Regions from separate parts of the Homo sapiens genome. Here all the other regions are linked to region 4. Evidence: promoter capture Hi-C in 16 types of primary human blood cells and fetal thymus (Javierre and others, 2016). All regions are on one chromosome and are shown on one strand. The core of a region is centred on a gene start or on the middle of the fragment in contact, and the rest is flanking DNA. Distances in the headings are between cores, read along the strand shown. Region 1 holds the start of ZNF85 (zinc finger protein 85). Region 2 holds the start of ZNF714 (zinc finger protein 714). Region 3 has its middle 72 kb from the start of ZNF431. Region 4 holds the start of ZNF100 (zinc finger protein 100). Region 5 overlaps ZNF430 (zinc finger protein 430).

Region 1 (2,700 bases), core at 94-2,593, 840 kb after region 4:
TTACTGTAAATCAGAGTTAATCTGGAAGAACAGGGAGTAAGAAGTAGACTTGAGACCCTGCTTGAGACATATGTGAAAAATGCAGGGGAAAAGAAGTCCCCTGTGGACTGTGAAAATGATTCAGTGGCAGGCAATTAGACTGAGGTGGCTCTAGTCCCTGGGGTCCTCCTTTTTAAAAAAATCTAACTAAAATTTCATTTTTTAGTAAATTACCACATCGGGGAAAACAAAATTCAGGCTTAACCAACTATAAACTGCCAATTAAATTCTGATCACATAACCAGAAAATTGCCAACACGATCGTACAAATTAAGAGACTATATAACTGTACCTAACCAATTACTAATTTGATTTTTTTATCATGCACCTTATAAAAGTCTTTTATTCAAGCTCCTCCCATGGACCACAAACTACAAACCATAGCTGAGTGCTCTACAATACTTGAACCACTTTTTAAGTTCTTTAATATTTTTGCGGTGACTCCTATACATCTTTTTTTTTTTTTTTTGAGACGGAGTTTCACTCTTATTGCCCAGGCTGGAGTGCAGTGGCGCGATGTAGGCTCACTGCAACCTCCGCCTCCCGGGTTCAAGCGATTCTCCTGCCTCAAACTCCTGAGTAGCTGGGATTGCAGGCGCGCGCCACGACGCCCGGCTAATTTTTGTATTTTTAAAAATTGAGACGGGGTTTCACCATGTTGGCCAGGATGGTCTTGAACTCCTGACCTCAGATGATCCGCCCGCCTCGGCTTCCCAAAGTGCTGAAATTACAGGCGTGAGCCACCACGCCCGTCCCCCCATACATTTTTAACAGAAAAAAAGAGGAACTGGGAACCCCACAGCCCAAAGCTCTTTCATGAACCCGCACCCCGAGTCAGGATTCTCCCCTGACAACCCTCCCGTGGTCCCTGCTCAATCTGGGAGAGACGCGGTGCTGCGAATGCAGAGCTGCCCAGAGAGGGCTCCAGTCCAGGGCACAGTCACTGCGCAGGGAAGAGACAGGACGCCCGGGCCGGCTGTCAGCGCAGCCGCCATCTTATGGCTGGAGGAACTGGGGCCGAGCTGGGCAAAAAGAACTGGAGCGCAGATTGTGGAGCTGACTACAGGGAGGCCTGAGTCCCGCCACAGCCGCTTCCCACCGGTTTCAACCAACCCCTTTCCCCCTCGGGATGGCGGACCTGGCACTCTCACCATTTCTAGGCTTCCAGGGGGTCCCGGCGTCTTAGCTGTGGATCTCCCAATACCTGCAGGCCACAGGGCCACAGAGGCTGGGCGTCCACGAGCAGAAAACACAAAGCAGGGAAAACAAGACCTAGAGCTCAGGCTGCAGCGAGAGACAAAGGCCCCGCCACATCCCGGAAGCCGCCCTATCCGCACCAGCTGCGTTCCTGATTGGACGGTTCCCAGCCCAGCGTCTCTGATTGGATGATATTTAAGGCACCTTCTTTTCAGGCCCTGAGTGACAGAAGATGTGATCAGATGCTGGGCTGAAAGAAGAGCGAGTGACAGCCTAGGCTGCAGCCTTTTCAGACAGGGCTTCCTTCCTGAGCTGAGCCAGGCTCACACCAGAGAGTATTTGCCCTTACCTTGTGTATCAATTTATATGCATTCAAAAATAATATATTATATGGCTATTCACAAATGAACAAAGTATAACAACAATTGTTCTAAAATTTTAGATTTTATGACCTTCCTGTATTCTGGTCCTTTGAACAGGCAATCCTCTGAAATAAAATGTGAGTCACAGGTGAATTTTAAATTTTCTAGTAGCCAAACTTTAAAAAGAAAGAAGAAACAAGTGGAATTGATTGTAGCAATTTATTTAACCCAATATATTCAAAATATTTTCATTTTAATATGTGAGCAATATGTAATTATTAATGAAATATAAATACATTTGAAACAAAATCTTTGAAACTAATTCTGTATTTTACCTTTCTAGCACATCGCAGTTCAGACCAGCCACATTCCAGGCACCCAGGAGCCACACATGGCCAATAGCTGCCACATTGAAGTACAGCTGTGATGTCAGTGGGGGTGGAGGGCCTGAACACCCCTTTTCTGCCACAGGTGAGGGGACAGCCTCTATTTATCAACGTCTCTTTTCAGTTCCGAGGGTGAAACAAATAGTGGCTATAGAAAAAGCTGATGGCAGCAGGAATAAATCACAGGTAAACCACTGCTTACCACCTGTTGCCCATCTTTCTTTCAGAGATCAGACAGTGAGCAAAGGATGATGGGCCACAGGAGAAAAAAAACTATGTCTTCAGATCTGTTCACAGTCTTGACCTTTAATGTTTACATAGGAAGAAAATAGATTAAAGGCAAACTTATTTTGCTATTTGACCTCGACTCTAATGTTCAGGCTGTGGTTACCTGTTTTCTTCTGTGGTGTGGGAAACTGAGTGAATATAAGCACAATCACATGCATACATGTCCACATGTATTTCGGCATTTCTTTTTTTTGAGATGGAGTTTCACTCTTGTTGCCCAGGCTAAAGCGCAATGGTGTGGTCTTGGCTCACTGCAACCTCTGCCTCCTGGGTTCAAGCAATTCTCCTACCTCAGCCTCCCGAGTAGCTGGGATTACAGGCATGCACTACCACGCCCGGCTAATTTTTTGTACTTTTAGTAGAGACGGGATTTCTCCATGTTGGTCAGGCTGGTCTTGAACTCCTGACCTTAGGTGATCCAACCGCCT
Region 2 (2,700 bases), core at 51-2,550, 690 kb after region 4:
GAGGCTGGAGATATGGGGGACGGGAGGTTAGATTTAAGACAGTGCTTGGGACACAGTTGAAAAATGCACCAGAAAATCAGTTCCCCATGGAGTGTGAAAATAATTAAGCGGCGGGAAATTAGACTGAGGTGTCTCTAGTCCCTGGATTCCTACTTTTAAAAAAATCTGGCTGGGCGCGGTGGCTCACGCCTGTAATCCCAGCACTTTGGGGAGGCCGTGGAGGGCAGATCACCTGAGGTCGGGAGTTCGAGACCAGCCTGACCAACATGCAGAAACCCGTCTCTACTAAAACCACAAAATTAGACGGGCGTGGTGGCGCATGCCTGTAATCCCAGCTACCTGGGAGGCTGAAGCATTGGATCGCTTGAACCCGGGAGGCAGAGGTTACGGTGAGACAAGATCGCCCCATTGCACTCCAGCCTGGGCAACAAGAGCGAAACTCCATCTTAAAAAAAAAAAATCTAACTGAGGTGCATTTTTAGTAAATTACTACATTGAGAGAAACAAAATTCATCCTTAACCAACTATAAACTGCCAATTAACATCTAATTACATAACCAGGAAATTTTCACCTTTATTTTACAAATTAAGAAACTATGTATCTGAACCTAACCAATTACTGAATTTGGTTTTCTTCATCATGCTGTTTATAAAAGTCTTTACTTCAAGCCCCGCCCATAAACCATAAATTACAAACCACAGCTGGGTGCTCCACAATTTTTGAATCACGCTTTGATTAAATGCTTTAGTGTTTTAACGGTGACTCCCATACATTTTCAACAGAAGAGGAACTGGAACCCCACGGACCCATTCATAAACCCGCACCCCGAGTCAGGATTCTACCCCTGGGACCCTCCAGTGGTCCCTGCACAATCCGGGAGAGACGCGCCGCTGAGGGTCCAGAGCTGCCCTGAGAGGACTCCAGGTCAGGGCCCAGTCACTGCGCAGGGAAAAGACAGGACGCCCGGGATCCCGCAGTCAGCGCAGCCGCCATCTTATGGCTGAAGGGGACTGAGGCCGAGCTGAGCAAGGAGAACTCCGGGCGCAGATTGTAGAGTTGACTGCGGGGAGGCCTAAGTCCCACCACAGCCACTTCCCACCGCTTACAACCCGCCCCTTCCCCTCTCTCGGGATGTCGGACCCGGCACTCTCACCATTTCTAGGCTTCCGGGGTACCTGGCGTCTTAGCTGTGGATCTCTCAATACCTGCAGGTCACAGGGCCACAGAGGCTGGGCCTCTGCGAGCAGAGGACACAGGGCAGTGAAGGCGAGACCTGCAGCTCCAGCTGCAGCGAGAGACAAAGGCCCCGCCACATCCCCGAAGCCGTCCTGTCCGCTCCAGCTGCAGGCCTGATTGGACGGTTCCCAACCCAGCGTCGCTGATTGGATAACTTTTAAAACCCCACCTTCTCGTGCCCTGAGTGACAGAAGATGTGATCAGTTGCTGGGCTGAGTGAAGAAAGGGTGACAGCCTAGGCTGCAGCCTTCTCAGGCAGGGCTTCCTCCCAGAGCTGAGCCAGGCCCACCCCAGAGGGAATTTGCCTTTAAACTTGTGTGTAAAGTCATATGCATTTATAAATAATATATGGCTCTTCACAAAGGAAAAAATATAATTTTATAATAACAATTATTTTAAAATTTCAGATTTTATGACCTTCCTGGCTTCTTTCTGGTCTTTGAGCAGGCAGGCTGAGATTTTAGAAAGGAGGTAATCCTCTGAAATAAAATGTGAGCCATATGTGAATTTTAAGTTTTCTAGTAGCCAAACTTGAAAAAGAAACAAGAACAGGTTGAATTGATTGTAACAATTTAATTAACCCAATATATCAAAAAAATTTTCATTTTAATGTGTGAGAAATATGTAATTATTAATAAAGTATATAAATATTTGGAACTAAATCTTTGAAACTAACTCTGTATTTTACCTTTCTAGCATCGCACTTCAGACCAGGCGCCACACATGGCCAATAACTGCCACATTGAAGTGCAGCTCTGATGTCAGCGGTGTGAAGGGCCCAAGCAAACCTTTTCTGCCAGAGGTGAAGGAAGAGCCTCTCCCTACCAACATCTCTCTTCCGTTCCGGGGGTGGAACAGATAGTGGCCAAAGAAAGAGGAGACGGCAGCAGGAATAAAATAATTACAAGTAAAGCACTGCTGGATGAGATCACAGGCGCGCGCCACCATGCTCGGCTAATTTTTTGTATTTTTAGTAGACACGGGGTTTCACCATGTTGGCCAGGCTGGTCCTGAACTCCTGACCTCAGGTGATCTGCCCGCTTTGGCCTCCCAAAGTGTTGGGATTACAGGCGTGAGCCACCGCACCCAGCCTCAAAATGTTTTTTCTTTCTTTTTTTTTAATTTTAAAAAATGATGGGAACATGTCAAAGGGAGCCAGCCTGAAAGAACTCCCAATGGTCCATCCTGGAACAATGTTAGCATCCAAATGAATAATTAGAGCACTGACCTATAAAATAAATCAAGTCAAATAAATAAATACCCATGCATTTACACTGATACACAAAAAACTTTAAATAAATAAAAAAGAAAAAAGGATAGGGAAATTTTTTTTTACAGAATTCCAAATACTAATCAACATAGATAAAATGCTAAAGAAACCATCACAAAACCACCAGTTATTATTGTATCCAAGGTTAACTGAGGAGTGTAAAAATTGTAAATAACACTTAAAAAATAAGCAT
Region 3 (2,700 bases), core at 143-2,642, 550 kb after region 4:
TCTTAGATCATTATTTATGAAGAGGTGGAAAGTGGTGTTATTAGTTAGCATGTTCTGAGTGGTCTTGTTGGTGTACATACACAGTGGCTGTACATGCTTATGTGTCACATATCTTATTAGCATCTTTAATCTCCACTCACTTGTGTGTTTTTTACTATTATAATGAGTAAAAGGTCAGAGGACAAGTAAAATCAAAATGTGCATGTTCTTTACAGGGGAGTAAAGAACTCTCTTCCCTACTGAAGAGAGCTGTGCTTCAGTGAGCTGAAATACAATGCAAATGTTGGGGCTTATTGTGTTGCCAATATGCTGTCACTATGCAATCGCCATGCCTGCTGCATGTCCCAAGGACATGGTGACCTTCTTGGCTACCTAGCCTCCCTCAACAGTACTTGTCTTAGTTTATTTTCAACTATCAACTCTGAGAGTAAGATTTCGCTGTTATGTCAATATTGTCAAAAGTGGGAAAATGAAATTTTTAAAATCACACATTTGAGCTTGATTTGGGTCACTAGCTGTGTACCCAGGAAAAATTATTTTATGTCCCTGGAGCGTCAGTCAATATGTATGCATTGGTGAATGTTTTTGTTTTTGGTGTAGGTTTTTGTTTGTTTACATTTTAAAAGATATTTTTTCCTAATTTATGCTGATGTTAAGCTACACAAAACTTACCAAGAGCTCTATTTTACTACATTTTTCAACCAAAAGGTTGAATACTTAAGTATTGAAAGTGGCATTCTGGATTATCCTTTTCCATGTGATGGAGTCTGCATTTATCAGACTACATTGCAGTTTTTCCTTATGTGGTGCAAGGTTATAAAAATGCCATCCAGTTGATTTCTTAGGTAACAGTAGAATGTGTTTTTTCAGACAGTAGCATGAGATTTCCTGACATGCTACCTTTAGACACAATGAAAGAAAATGAATAAATGTGTATTAATTTGTCTTTATTTATAAGGTCATTAGAGGCTAAGTCATGGCAACACGTGTAGTTCAATCCAAATATTTTTGTGTAAAATTTTGTTGAGCCACATCCATCTGTATATGTGACACTAATTTGGTAACAGCTTCTTTATACTAAGCCAGAATTCATTTTACCTGGTGGTTTTGTTTTAAATATGTGAGTTGTATTATATCACATTTAATTAAGCAATATAAATTTAGTTCAGAGGTTATAGAAAGAAAAGTACAGGCACACTAAAAATGAATTGGAATCTGGCACCTGACACTGATTAACAGTTTAAGCAAATTTGACTAGATGTAAATTCCTGTAAAAAATACTGAAAGAAGGAATGTTAACTAAAAATATCTTCAACAACATAATAAATAGACTTATGAGATTTGAAAAAAAAGTTGATTTGTATACCATTATCAATATTAGGTTAAATTAGAAAATTGTGAACACATCATACAAAAAATAAAACTAGTAAACTATCCTCAGACTTCATCTGATTAAAACAAAACTTCTGGGTATTTGAAAGCATCAAATTATTGATGAGAAATATCTATTTTGAACAGATTCTTGATCTTTTATACATATTACTACTAAGTAAAACCTAATACAGCTCTGATTTCTGAAATATTTATGAATGTCTATCACTGTAGTGAAAAATCAAGAAATTTAAATCTACTGTCTAAATTTTGATGAAAATATTGTTATTTTAATTGAATACCAGTATTCATATAGTATGGCAAACCACCCATTTCTTTAGTATTCTGCTATTTTATAAAATATCCTAGAATTTGTGGAGACATTTGTAAAAATAAAAAAGTTCTAAAAAAATATAGACATCAGAAAATAGTGATATTAGTCCCTCTCCCTCGTCTCCCTCTCCCTCGTCTCCCTCTCCCCGGTCTCCCTCTGATGCCACCAAAGTTGTGAAAGCCGAGGCTGGACTGTACTGCCGCCATCTCGGCTCACTGCAACCTCCCTGCCTGATTCTCCTGCCTCAGCCTGCCGAGTGCCTGGGATTGCAGGCGCGCGCCGCCACGCCTGACTGGTTTTTGCATTTTTTGGTGGAGATGGGGTTTCGCTGTGTTGGCCGGGCTGGTCTCCAGCTCCTGACCGCGAGTGATCTGCCTGCCTCGGCCTCCCGAGGTGCCAGGATTGCAGACGGAGTCTCACTCCCTCAGTGCTCAATGTTGCCCAGGCTGGAGTGCAGTGGCGTGATCTCGGCTCGCTACAACCTCCACCTCCCAGCCGCCTGCCTTGGCCTCCCAATGTGCTGAGATTGCAGCCTCTGCCCGGCCACCACCCCGTCTGGGAAGTGAGGAGCATCTCTGCCTGGCCACCCATCGTCTGGGATGTGAGGAGCCCCTCTGACCGGCTGCCCAGTCTGGGAAGTGAGGAGCGCCTCTTCCCGGCCGCCATCCCGTCTAGGAAGTGAGGAGTGTCTCTGCCCGGCCGCCCATCGTCTGAGATGTGGGGAGCACCTCTGCCCTGCCGCCCCATCTGGGATGTGAGGAGCGCCTCTGCCTGACCGCGACCCCATCTGGGAACTGAGGAGTGTCTCTGCCTGACCGCCACCCCATCTGGGAGGTGAGGATCGTCTCTGCCCGGCTGCCCCATCTGAGAAGTGAGGAGCCCCTCCGCCTGGCAGCCGCCCCATCTGAGAAGTGAGGAGCCCCTCCGCCCGGCAGCCACCCCGTCTGAGAAGTGAGGAGCCCCTCCGCCCGGCAGCCGCCCTGTCCAGGAGGTGG
Region 4 (2,700 bases), core at 38-2,537:
TCAATAGCTAACTAATACATGCACCCAGTACAGATAAGTTGCCAGGATTCAGTGACAGGTTGACTAAGAGTTGGCTTCTAACAGTGGACACCCTCTAGGTACTGATTTCTTCCCCTGATTTAAAGTTCGATGTTTTGTAAGAGAATTTTGGGTAATGCAGAAATACCTGTAGACATGTATGCGTGTGATTGGTGCTTAGACTCACATAGTCCCCCACACCACAGGAGAAAACAGATAAACACAGCCTGATTGTTAGGGCCAAGACCATATAGCAAACTATGTTTGTTTTTAATCTATTTTCTCCATCTCTAAATACTGGAGTTCAAGTGTGTGGACAGAACTGAAGACATAGTTGTTTTTTCTCCTGTGGCCCCATCATCCTTTGTTCACTATCTGGTCTCTAAAAGAAAGGTGGGCAACAGGTGGCCAGCAGTTGTTTATTACCTGTGGCTATTTTATTCCTACTGCCCTCAGCTCTTTCTATGGGAACTATCTGGTCCACCCTAGGAACCAAAGAGAGATGTTTGTAGGGAGAGTCTCTTCTTTCACTCTCGCAGGAAAGAGATGTTCAGGCCCTTCACACCGCTGACATCAGAGCTGCACTTCAATGTGACAGCTATTGTCCATGTGTGGCTACTGGGTTCCCACAATGTGCCTGGTCTGAAATGCGATATGCTAGAAAGGTAAAATACAAAGTCAGCTTCAAAGATTTAGTTCCAAATATTTATATATTTTATCAATAATTACATATTTCTCACACATTAAAATGATAATATTTTGAATATAATGGGTGAATTACATTGTTAACAATCAGTTCAACTTGTTTCTTTTTAAAGTTTGGCTACTAGAAAATTTCAAATCCACATGTGGCTGACATTCATTTTAGATGATTTTCTCTTTTCTAAAATCTCAGGCTGCCTGCTCAAAGGGCCAGAAGCCAGGAAGGTCATAAAAGCTGAAATTTTAAAATAATTGTTATATTCTTTTCACTTGTGTATAGCTATATAATGTATTATTTATTTATACATATGACCTTATACACAAATTTAAAGGCAAATACTCTCTGGGATGGGCCTAGCTCAGCTGAGGGAGGAAGCCCTGTCAGAAGAGGGGGCAGTCTAGGCTGTCACTCTTTCTTCATTGAACCCGCATCTGATCACATCTTCTGTCACTCAAAGCCTGACAGGGCGGGGATTTAAGCATTATCCAACCAGGGACGCTGGGCTGGAAACCGTCCAATCAGGCATGCAGCTGGAGCGGACTGGACGGCTTCCGGGTTTGGCGGGGTCTTTGTCTCTCGCTGTAGCCGGAGCTCCAGGTTTTGCTCTCACTTCTCTGTGTCTTCTGCTCCTAGGGGCCTAGCCTGTGTGGCCCTCTGACCTGCAGATATTGGGAGATCCACAGCTAAGACGCCAGGACCCCCTAGAAGCCTAGAAATGGTGAGAGTGCCCGGTCCGACATCCCGAGAGACGGCGAAAGGGCTGGTTGGAACTGGTGGGAAGTAGCTGTGGCGGGACTCAGGCCTCTCCGCAGTCAGCTTCACAATCTGCGCCTTGCCCAGCTCGGCCTCCGTCCCCTTCGGCCATAAGATGGCGGCTGCGCTGACAGCCAGGACCCCAGGCGTCCTTTCTCTTCCCTGCGTAGTGACTGTGCCTTGGCCTGGAGCCCTCTCTTGGCAGCTCTGCACCCGCAGCGCCGCGTCTCTCTCAGATTGTGCAGGGACCACGGGAGGGTCGTCAGGGGAAAATCCTGACTCGGGGTGCGGGTTCATGAATGGGAAGATCTTTGGTCCGTGGCTTTCCCAGTTCCTCTTTTCTCCTATTAAAAATGTATGGGAGTCACTGCACAAATATTAACGATTTTTTTGTTTGTTTGAGACGGAGTCGCTCTGTCGCCCAGGCTAGGGTTTAGTGGCGCGATCTCCCCTCACTGCAACCTCCGCCTCCCGGGTTCTGGAGATTCTCCTGGCTCAGCCTCCCGAGTAACTGGGATTACAGGCGCCTGTCACTGGGCCGGCCTTATTTTTTTGTATTTTTAGTTGGGACGGGGTTTCACCTCGTTGGCCAGGCTGGTCTTGAACTCCTGACCTCGTGATCCGCCCGCCTTGGCCTCCTAAAGTGCTGGGATTACAGGCGTGAGCCACCGCGCCTGGCCTAAAGAATTTAATCAAACAGTGATTCAAGAATCATAGAGTATCCAGCTATGGTTTGTAGTTTGTTGTCTATGGGAGAGGCTTGAAGGAAAGTCATTTATAAAATGTATGATGAAGAAAACTAAATTTAGTAATTGGTTACAGTAACGTAGTTTCTTGATTTGTACAATACAGGTGAAGATTTCCTGGTTGTGTAATCAGAGGTTAATTAACAGTTTATAGTTGTTTAAGCCTACATTTTCTCTGAATGTAGTAATTAAAAAAAAAATGCACCTGAGTTAGATTTTTTTTTTTTTTAAGTAGGAACCCAGGGACTAGAGACACCTCAGTGGAATTGCCTGTCTCTTAATTATTTTCACACTCCACGGGGAACTGATTTTCTGCTGCATTTTTCACCTGTGTCCCAAGCAGGTTGTTAAGTCTAACCCCCGTCCCCCATTTCTCCAGCCTCACTCTGGCTTGCAGTAAGATACTAAATTTCCAATTTCTTCTGGCGTTCCCAAATGTCAACTTTTCCTTCCTAATTCACATTATCACCTATTTGTCCT
Region 5 (2,700 bases), core at 170-2,669, 720 kb after region 4:
AACTAAAACATCAAAACACAGTTAATTGGTATGAGGTGGCATACCCTAAAATATATAACATAAAAATATAAAATTGCAAAACAAAAGAAAAATATGGAATGTAAAACTTATTGGACACCATCAAGTCCATCAATATATTCATGAAATAAATCTTAGAAGAATATAGGGGGGCTGGGCACAGTGGCTCATGCCTGTAATCCCAGCACTTTGGGAGGCCGAGGCAGGCGGATCACACAGTCAGGAGATCGAGACCGTCCTGGCTAAGACGGTGAAACCCTGCCTCTACTGAAAAAATACAAAAAATTAGCCAGGTGTGGTGGTGGGCGCCTGTGGTCCCAGCTACTCGGGAGGCTGAGGCTGAGATCGAGCCACCGCACTCCAGCCTGGGTGACAGAGAGAGACTCTGTCTCAAAAAAAAAAAAGAGAAGAATAATGTAGGGAAAAAGTAATACAGAGGTAAATTAAAGAAAACGAAAGCTGAGAACTTCCCAAATTTTGATGTAATAAAAAATTCTAACCAATAATATTTAATTCAAAGTTATTTTACTTGAAAAACAAAATAAAAATACAGACTTTCCTAAATTAAATTTCAGGGTGTTCACTATAAGAAATGTTACACGAAATGTAACAAGAAATGTTACACGAAATGTAACAAGAAATGTTGCACGAAATGTAACAAGAAATGTTGCAGGAAACGTAACAAGAAATGTTGCACGAAATGTAACAAGAAATGTTACATGGTGGCCAGACATAGTGGCTCATGCCTGTAATTCTACAGCTTTAGGAAGCCAAGGCAGTCAGATCTCTTGAGACCAGGAGTCCAAGATCCAGTCTGAGAAACACAGACTCTGCATATAAACAAATAGAAATGCTAAAATGAATCCATTTTGTTGAAAAATAAAATGATGCTAGACAGCATCATAAAACCATATATAAAGCTCCCTATTAAATATAAATATACAGATACATATAGAATTTTTTACTATCATAATGGTGCATAAAACCGTTAAAGTTCTGTAGATATAAAAATACAAGATATAAATCTGTTAATAGATACATAATATAATTTGTAGTATCAATAACAAACTGGAAAACATAGCAGTATAGGTTTTGTATTTAATTAAAGTTTAAGAAGTTAAAATATATCTTTTTTACTTTTTTTTTTTTTTTTTTTTTTTTGAGATGGAGTCTTGCTCTGTCACCCAGGCTGGAGTGCAGTGGCGCAATCTCGGCTCACTGCAACCTCTGTCATCTGGGTTCAAGTGATTATCCTGCCTCAGTCTCAGATGTCCTCCACCACATACCTAATTTTTGTATTTTTAGTAGAGACAGTTTCACCATGTTGGCCAGGCTGGTCTCAAACTCCTGACCTCAGGTGATCTATCCATCTCAGCCTCCCAAAGTGTTGGGATTACAGGTGTGAGCCACCATGCTTGGCCTTATTTTTTTAACTTTAAGATATTTTATGCCCCATCTGGGAGGGAGGTGGGGGGCAGCCCCTGCCCGGCCAGCCACCCCGTCCAGGAGGGAGGTTGGGGCCAGCACCCGCCCGGCCAGCCGCCCCGTCCGGGAGGTGGGGGGCGCCTCTGCCCGGCCGCCCCTTCTGGGAAGTGAGGAGCCCCTCTGCCCAGCCGCCACCCCGTCTGGGAGGTGTACCCAACAGCTCATTGAGAACGGGCCATGATGACGATGGCGGTTTTGTCGAATAGAAAAGGGGGGAATGTGGGGAAAAGATAGAGAAATCAGATTGTTGCTGTGTCTGTGTAGAAAGAAGTAGACATAGGAGACTCCATTTTGTTCTGTACTAAGAAAAATTCTTCTGCCTTGGGATGCTGTTAATCTATAACCTTACCCCCAACCCCATGCTCTCTAAAACATGTACTGTGTCCACTCAGGGTTAAATGGATTAAGGGCGGTGCAAGATGTGCTTTGTTAAACAGATGCTTGAAGGCAGCATGCTCGTTAAGAGTCATCACCACTCCCTAATCTCAAGTACCCAGGGACACAAACACTGCGGAAGGCCGCAGGGTCCTCTGCCTAGGAAAACCAGAGACCCTTGTTCACTTGTTTATCTGCTTACCTTCCCTCCACTATTGTCCTATGACCCTGCCAAATCCCCCTCTGCGAGAAACACCCAGGAATGATCAATAAATACTAAAAAAAAAAAAAAAAAAAAAAAAAAAAAAAAGATGTTTTATGTAATCTCCATTTTAAGATGATTACATTATACTTCAAGGTGATTACATAATATTTATAAAAAGTATGCAAAAAATGAAAAAATAATCAAAGCATGTAACGATAAAGTTAACAAAAATAAAGGTAGTAAAACAGGAAATGAGAAAAAACTTATCTACAAGAAATACATAAAACAGGAACAATGAGGTGGTTTCTGCAGATCAGCAGACTTAGTCTTTCCCCCTGCTGGCTCTGAGCAATCCAGGCAGTACAGATGTATGGAATTTCCCTCAGTGCAGCACAGCCACTCCACCAAGGTGCAGCCAGAGTGCTTTCTTAAGTGGTTCCCAGATCTCATGCATCCTGACTGGGTGAGACCCCCACAACAGACATCGTCAGACAACTTATAAAGTAGTGTTCCCACTGTCATCAGATCATTCCCCTTCTGGGACAAAGACCCCAGAGGAAGGAGCAAGCAGTCCTCTCTGCTATTCTGCAGGCTCCACTGGTTGACACCTCCAGGTG

The links. The method cuts DNA at HindIII sites, captures the fragments that hold promoters and counts their contacts. A CHiCAGO score of 5 or more calls a contact.
Region 1: the fragment with the promoter of ZNF85 here is called in contact with the fragment with the promoter of ZNF100 in region 4 in 1 of 17 cell types (fetal thymus); the score reaches 5.3 in fetal thymus.
Region 2: a contact is called between the fragment with the promoter of ZNF714 here and the fragment with the promoter of ZNF100 in region 4, in 3 of 17 cell types (neutrophils, total CD8 T cells and fetal thymus). The highest score is 9.3, in neutrophils.
Region 3: a contact is called between a fragment that was not itself captured here and the fragment with the promoter of ZNF100 in region 4, in 1 of 17 cell types (neutrophils). The highest score is 6.2, in neutrophils.
Region 5: a contact is called between a fragment that was not itself captured here and the fragment with the promoter of ZNF100 in region 4, in 1 of 17 cell types (monocytes). The highest score is 5.0, in monocytes.

What each region holds. Positions count from the first base shown.
Region 1 is chr19:20,921,894-20,924,593 of GRCh38, reverse strand. It overlaps ZNF85 (zinc finger protein 85), which reads right to left and starts at 1,343. Exons shown (of 4, transcript NM_003429.5): 1 at 1,191-1,343. The coding sequence starts at 1,193. The HindIII fragment of the contact is 9,960 bases long and covers 1-2,700 here.
Region 2 is chr19:21,080,803-21,083,502 of GRCh38, reverse strand. It overlaps ZNF714 (zinc finger protein 714), which reads right to left and starts at 1,300. Exons shown (of 5, transcript NM_182515.4): 1 at 1,155-1,300. RefSeq lists an enhancer at 812-961. The HindIII fragment of the contact is 3,534 bases long and covers 1-2,700 here.
Region 3 is chr19:21,212,592-21,215,291 of GRCh38, reverse strand. No RefSeq gene overlaps it. Among named protein-coding and RNA genes, the nearest start is that of ZNF431, 72 kb to the right of the region's middle. The HindIII fragment of the contact is 5,121 bases long and covers 1-2,700 here.
Region 4 is chr19:21,766,166-21,768,865 of GRCh38, reverse strand. It overlaps ZNF100 (zinc finger protein 100), which reads left to right and starts at 1,287. Exons shown (of 5, transcript NM_173531.4): 1 at 1,287-1,439. The coding sequence starts at 1,437. RefSeq lists a silencer at 1,123-1,300. The HindIII fragment of the contact is 10,466 bases long and covers 1-2,700 here.
Region 5 is chr19:21,047,653-21,050,352 of GRCh38, reverse strand. All of the region lies in intron 4 of ZNF430 (zinc finger protein 430), which reads right to left. Among named protein-coding and RNA genes, the nearest start is that of ZNF430, 28 kb to the right of the region's middle. The HindIII fragment of the contact is 4,673 bases long and covers 1-2,700 here.